Regions from separate parts of the Homo sapiens genome. Here region 2 is linked to region 1. Evidence: promoter capture Hi-C in 16 types of primary human blood cells and fetal thymus (Javierre and others, 2016). All regions are on one chromosome and are shown on one strand. The core of a region is centred on a gene start or on the middle of the fragment in contact, and the rest is flanking DNA. Distances in the headings are between cores, read along the strand shown.

The links. The method cuts DNA at HindIII sites, captures the fragments that hold promoters and counts their contacts. A CHiCAGO score of 5 or more calls a contact.
Region 2: a fragment that was not itself captured here is called in contact with the fragment with the promoter of GAST in region 1 in 1 of 17 cell types (non-activated CD4 T cells); the score reaches 6.2 in non-activated CD4 T cells.

What each region holds. Positions count from the first base shown.
Region 1 is chr17:41,710,485-41,713,966 of GRCh38, forward strand. GAST (gastrin) reads left to right here and starts at 1,847. Exons shown (of 3, transcript NM_000805.5): 1 at 1,847-1,903. The HindIII fragment of the contact is 7,695 bases long and covers 1-3,482 here.
Region 2 is chr17:40,763,932-40,767,413 of GRCh38, forward strand. It overlaps KRT26 (keratin 26), which reads right to left. Exons shown (of 8, transcript NM_181539.5): 8 at 2,307-2,735. The coding sequence ends at 2,584. Among named protein-coding and RNA genes, the nearest start is that of KRT26, 6.5 kb to the right of the region's middle. The HindIII fragment of the contact is 4,417 bases long and covers 1-3,482 here.

The sequences.
Region 1 (3,482 bases), core at 597-3,096:
ATAGGAGACATGCTTCTATTTGTTGAAATTGTCATCCCTCATGTAACCAGCCTGGGGAAGAACATTCAAGGGGGCATAACCCCCTCCATGGGCACAAACTGAGTCTTGGGCTCTGGTACAACCAGGGTTCTACTGAAAACTTATCATTTCCCATTAGTGTTACCATAGCAACACGAATGTCTTCATTCATTCCCCTAGTGTATGAACAGAGCTACACTCACCCCACCTGTTCTCCCAAGCCCCCTCAAAGTCCTTTCATCTCTGAGATTCTGTGATTCAATTAATTATCACCAATGCCTGCACTGCTTTTTGTCGTTTTCATTTATTCCATCTGCTGAGTCACCGTGTCCTGCTCTAGATGAGAGTGGTTATTCACAACGGTTATTCAGCCGTCAGTTGCCATGGACACCGCACAGCCTGCTTCCTTCATCACCCATTAATTCTCAGCAAGGCTGGCTGTAAGCATGGGTACCACTGCAGTTACCCAATACCCAAGGGGATCAAACTCTCCCAGAAAAGGTGGGGGCCCAATGACGCATGAACAGGAGCAAAATCTCTGCTCTCAACAGTGGAAAAGTAAAAAACAGCCTACGGCTCATTACATCTGGTCAAACCATGTGGAGGCAGCAGTTTATCAAATAAGTCAACAAGGTACCATTTTGTTTTCTGGTCCATCTTTGGCAAATGCTTTAGTCTGTTTGCTAACCATTTGAAGGTATATTTTGATACTGAAAAGTTGTTGGCTGGGCATGGTGGCTCACGTCTGTAATCCCAGAACTTTGGCAGACTAAGCTGGGCCGATCATGAGGTCAGGAGTTCGAGACCAGCCCGCCCAACACGATGAAACCCCATCTCTACTAAAAATACAAAAAATTAGCCAGGCGTGGGGGCGTGCGCCTGTAATCCCAGCTACTAGGGAGGTTGAGGCAGAAGAATCGCTTGAACCCAGGAGGCGGAGGTTCCAGTGAGCCGAGATCACACCACTGCACTCCTGCACTCCAGCCTGGTGACAGAACTAGACTTTGTCTCAAAAAAAAAAAAAAGTTGTTATGCAGATTACTAGCTCCCCTTGAAAGCAAAATGAAGGAGGCTTCAAAGGCAGGACCCTCCAGGAATTGGTTCTGCATAGGGGGTTTGCAAGTGGTGGTGCATGGGCAGCTGACCTAGAAGACACGGGGCAGCTACAAGCCAAACCCAGCCCAGCACAGAGGGCCTAAGGAGAAGAAGGCACCAAGGGTGTTCCATGGTAGGGGGAGGGTGAAAGGACTTCAGAGGTGACCAGGATGTGAGCCACTAGAAGGAGAGAACAGGGCCATCAGCCCACAACCCATTGCTCCTGGTAACACGTTATGTTTGCAGAGTCCAGTGGAGGGGACGGGGAATCAATACATCACCCCACATTCACACGCTTGCCAAACATCAGTGGATGGCGAAATCCACTTTCCCTGAATCTAAGCCCATCGGGTTCACTCCCTCACCTACCACCACCCACAAAGGTCCCTATGTAGTTCGAGAGATAAGTGCCAGGCCTCTGACCCCCAGGATATGGTGGGAAGCATTGCTCCTGACCCAGGGAGCTTGGTTCCTGCCCCTCAGGTACAGCTGGAGAGCTGCCGCCACCCCGCTCCAGCCCCTCACCATGAAGGTCAACTCCCCTATCCTTCCCCCACATCCTGGATGACTGACTGACACTAAATGAAAGGGCGGGGCAGGGTGATGGGCTGTACCTGTGCCCCACCCCATTCCTCTCGCCTGGACTCATATGGCAGGGTAGGGGCGGGGTGGGGGGACAGTTGGGAGGGACCTTGAGGGCTTTATAAGGCAGGCCTGGAGCATCAAGCAGAGCAGAGACCTGAGAGGCACCAGGCCCAGCCGTGGCACCACACACCTCCCAGCTCTGCAGGTGAGAAAACCCAGGAGGAGAGGGGAGAGGCTAGGAAGTGGGTTGACAGGTCCTCTCCCCCATCAAGGTACCAGGCCACTGGCCAGAGTCTGGGGCTCACCCCTTGGGGTCTCCAGAGCTGGGACCCTTTCTTTATCCCAGGATGGAACTAGGTCTTGGCTCCAGTACCTACCCTGGTATTCCCAACCTTGCCTTCCACCTGCCCTTCTGCCGCAGCCGGGGCCCTGCCCTTAGCCTATCCCTTCACACTCTTCCCAGCCCTGGGAGGTGAGGAGGACTGGGGTTCTTCTCCTTTCTCTCAGACAAGAAAACTGAGGCCCAGAGGCAAGATGTGACTTGCCCAAAGTCACAGGGATTATTAGGCAAGGCTGGGATAGGAATCCACAGCTCCTGGATCCCACTTCAAGCCCTTTCCTAGACCAGTGCCATCCAAAAGAACGTCCTATGATGCAGGAAATGGTCTTCATCTGCACTGTTCAATATGGTAGCCACTAGCCACGTGTGCGCTTGAAATGGGGTTAGTGTAAGGAAGTTTTTGTTGTTGTTGTTGTTTGTTTTTTTATATAGAGTCTCGCCGTGTCACCCAGGCTGGAGTGCAGTGACATGCAACCTCTGCCTCCCAGGTTCAAGCAATTCTCCTGACTCAGCCTCCCGAGTAGCCGGGATTACAGGCGCCTGCCACAACACCCAGCTAATTTTTCATATTTTTGGTAGAGACAGAGTTTCACCATGTTGGCCAGGCTGGTCACAAACTCCTGACCTCAAGTGATCCAACCCCCTCAGCCTCCCAAAGTGCTGGGATTACAGGCGTGAGCCACTGCACCTGACCATAATTTTTTAATTTAATTAATTTAAATGTAAAGAGCCACATGTGGCTGGTGGCTATAGCACTGAACAACACATGTGGTTAGCATCTGACAATACAGCTCCAGATCACTGATTTTTCAAACATTTCTTCAGCAGCAGAATTCTTTTCTTCCAAAGAAAACCTAACAGAAAACCTGATTATGAAAAACTTAATGGCCAGGCACCGTGGCTCATGCCTGTGATCACAACACTTTGGGAGGCTGAAGCAAGCAGATTGCTTGAGCTCAGGAGTTCCAGACCAGCCTGGGCAACATAGTGAGACCTCATCTCTACTAAAAATAAAAACAAAAAAATTAGCTGGGCATAGTAGTGCACACTTGTAGTCCCAACTACTCAGGAGGCTGAGGTGGGAGGATCTCTTGAGCCCAAGAGGTCGAGGCTGCAGCGAGTCAGGATCACGCCAGCCACTGCATTCCAGCCTGGGAGACAGAGCAAGATTCTGTCTCACAAAAAGAAAAGAAAAAAAGAAAAACTTAAAAGCAGTACAGTATTTTATTAATACAAATGTATTCTGACAAGAGAAAATTTTTATCATTTTCTTATGATAAAGCCAATCAGAATAGTGAGACCAAAAGCATACAAAAATAGTGAGTCCAGGGAATAGATGAGCATTTGAATTTTATGTTTGTTTGAGATTCCAGTTTAGTTCTGTATTATGTTTTCCCCAAACTTGATTCACCCTGATACATAATTGCTAATGGTGACAGCTTAA
Region 2 (3,482 bases), core at 404-2,903, 950 kb before region 1:
TCACTGTGTATCTCACTGTTACTCATTTGAAAGTAATCATTATTTTCCTATATGGCTGATTTTTAAGGTCTTTTGTTTGTTATTTTGTGGTTTTACTATGATTTTTCTACATGTGGATTTCTTTTTATCTTGTCTTTAGTTTCACAATTGGTAGCTCACAATTAAGGATGTCCCATAAAAGTTTTTGGGATTTGTCAAGTGTTGGTGACAGTCTTTCACTTTTTTCATTTTTTTGCTAATACTAACTTTTTGGAAACAAAGCTGAGTACGTAAACTTTCCAGCCTTCATTTCAAGAAGTATGGTTGATTCATCAACAGCATGTATTTTGGAGTCATGGGTTATGCTTGTATTAAGTGCAAATCAGTCTTATCTAGATAGGGAAATCTATTTAAGTAGAAAGAGTGGATATAGAAAAATGGAAGTTGGCCCAATTGTTCTTGGAAAGAATAGGACCTCTGTTGGGAATAAGAAAGAGTGAATAGTACTGGTGGCACAAGAGAAAGAGGGTCAACATTGTGTTTCTAAGGTGGTGAGTTAAGCAAGTGTCTTTGGAGAGCTGATAATGTAGTTTTACTCTTTTAATTCTTGGGGTATCGAGCCTCTGAGAGACCCTACCTGTCAGAATGAGAGAGTAATGAAGCATAGTGATGGAAACTGTAGCAGAAGTGAGGGGGCATCTGGTAACCAGGACTTAATAAATATGGAGGCAGAAAAGGGAGGTGCTGGGAGAGGAGCTGGAGATGGGTAACTAGCAGATAGGAAAAGACTACACATACTGCAGGCATGCTGTAGGCTTTCTGTAGGGATGCTGTAGGTATCTGTAGGCATAATGTAGATATACTGTAGGCATAATGTAGACATCTTTCAGCATACTGTAGGCATACTGTAGGCATGCTATACACTGTAGAATGCAGTAGGCATACTGTAGGCATACATACTTGAGAGATTTGTAGTCATGCTACAAGCATGCTTGTTTTATGTTACAAGCAGGCCACTGCACTGAAAGCCATACTCCTGGCTTTCATTGTATCATTGATAGTCAAGCACATAAAAGTCTGCCTGATTGTGGTCCCTCTTGGGTGGTAATGGAAACTTAGTGTGAAAATAGTGAATTCCTATGCTTATTTTTGTTCTGTTCAATGGAACTCAAATCACCATGGCAGAGGAGAGCTGGATTTGCATCTAAGACCCGCTACACATCAGCTGTGTAGCCCTGGAGAAATTCCTTAATCTCTGAGTATCTGTTTTCCTCATATACAAAATAAAGATGATAAAACACCTACCTCATAAGCATTTATGAAAATTAAATTGGATAATGTATATAAAGTGAGTTAAAACACACTCAGTAAATGTAAGATATTGTCACTATAGTTCTGCAATTGAAAGTGCTTCTAACCAGACTTAATCTAACTCCATACCATTGAAATATGGCCTTTGTCATCATGGTTGGGACCATTCATCACAGGAAGACCCTGACAAAAGGAATTTTCAGCTGTATCTACATCTCCAGAAAGTGTCATCAGGCTAAGGTCAACTACCTTATATGGAAGCAGGAAATAATGGTGACCAAGCCTATATTTGAGACTTGTAAAATGCAACCTCAGAGGGTTTAGCACCCTGAAATGGTGCAGTTCAGTCTTCATGGGCCATTTTGAATCCTGCATTGTCTATATGCCAGTTGATTAAAACCTTTCAATGTTGTTCTTGCCATGCAAGTTGGAAATCCAGGTGATTATAGAGGTCACTGCCTCATTCCACTCCAAATGAAAAAAACCTCTTTAGCCTAGAACTTTGCTGCTTTCCAATCCCAGCTGCACTTTCCAAAATAATTTAGTAAGGATGTCAGGCAGAATTTTGTGTGCAGGAGAATATGAGCAAGATTTAGAACCACCCCTAGGCTTTAGTTCTAAATTTGCTTAGTCATTACCATGGTAGAGGCAGAGAGATGCATGTGCTGGAAAATGGAAAAACGGCTTTCCAGGTTCAGATTTTACAACAAACATTTGCTGATCACCCAGGCTAGGCATTGTAAGGGTAAACAAATCCTAGTGATCAGTGGGTATTATCTTCTTCTTTTATGTCCATAGACACTCAAACCCAAGAAGATCAACTTATTTACGTAGTCAATCAGGGACAGATTTGGGACCAGACATTAGAGCTAGTGCTCTTTCCACCTTATTCTGTTATTAATTGAGGTAACTGTGACTATGAAATGAAACACATTATTTTATTAGCAGGTCCTTAGTATTGCCACATTGGGATCAACTTTAGCAATTAAAAAGAATCAGATATTAAAAAAAATAACTTGCAATAGAAGAATTTTTAATGAAATGTCAAAAAAGGCCCCCAAAATAAAAACAAAAATTAGGGACAGAGCAGGATTTTTCTACTCTGGAAAAGGATTACATGCATAGAACATGAGAAAAGGAAGAGAAGGAGAACAAATTCTAGCCCTTTTAAGAACAGAAATGAATAATTTCCTTAGGTTATTTGACCAGTAGGATTTTTGCAAAGGCAGCCTTTCTTTCTTTCTTTCTCTCTCTCTCTCTTTCTTTCTTTCTTTCCAAATAACTTTTTCCTCATTATGGTGCTTTAGAAGGTACTCGTTGCTCTACTGTAATGTTGCTTATTTTAGAGGACTTTTCTTCAACTGAGTGGACTCTCAGTGAAAGGAGATTGCCAATTTGATCCAGTTCCTCAACCACTGTTTTAACAATAGTTTCTTCTGTTGAGTCTAAAATAAAATAAATAAAACATTAGTGGTCATTTTTTAACAGGTTGAAAAGTAGCCATAATAGGTATGCTTTTTGTTTGTTTGTTTTTTTGAGAAGGAGTCTCGCTCTGTCACCCAGGCTGGAGTGCAGTGGCATGATCTCGGCTCACTGCAGCCTCTGCCTCCCGGGTTCAAGAGATTCTTCTGCCTCAGTCTCCCGAGTAGCTGGGATTACAGATGCCTGCTACAATGCCTGGCTAATTTTTGTATTCTTAGTAGAGATGGAGTTTCACCATGTTGACCAGGCTGGTCTCGAACTCCTGACCTCAAGTGATCCACCTGCCTTGGCCTCCCAAAGTGCTGGGATTACAAGCATGAGCCACTGCACCTTTTAAAAAATGTTTGCTTTTTAAAAATGTTTTTTGCAAGTTTGCAGTAAATCGATATATAATACTGTGTTTGAAGTCAGTGTTTAGCAAGATCCTGGACTATCTCTCTTATATTTGCCACTGCTTTTAGAGCAATGGGCATTTGAAAACATAAATGAAACATGGATTAAAACAATCTAAGTATCAGGCAGTAAAGGCTGGCTGCAAGTAATGTTGTCTTCTTTTAAATACCAACTTGCCCGATTTTTGTGGTTTAAGATAAAGTAGCTCTTTTATCAAAGTATTGAAACTATGAAAGATAATACATTCCAGGTAAGAAACATGTTGTGGGATTAATTCCTCATTTCAATAATTTCATAATTTGACCACATCTGTTGAT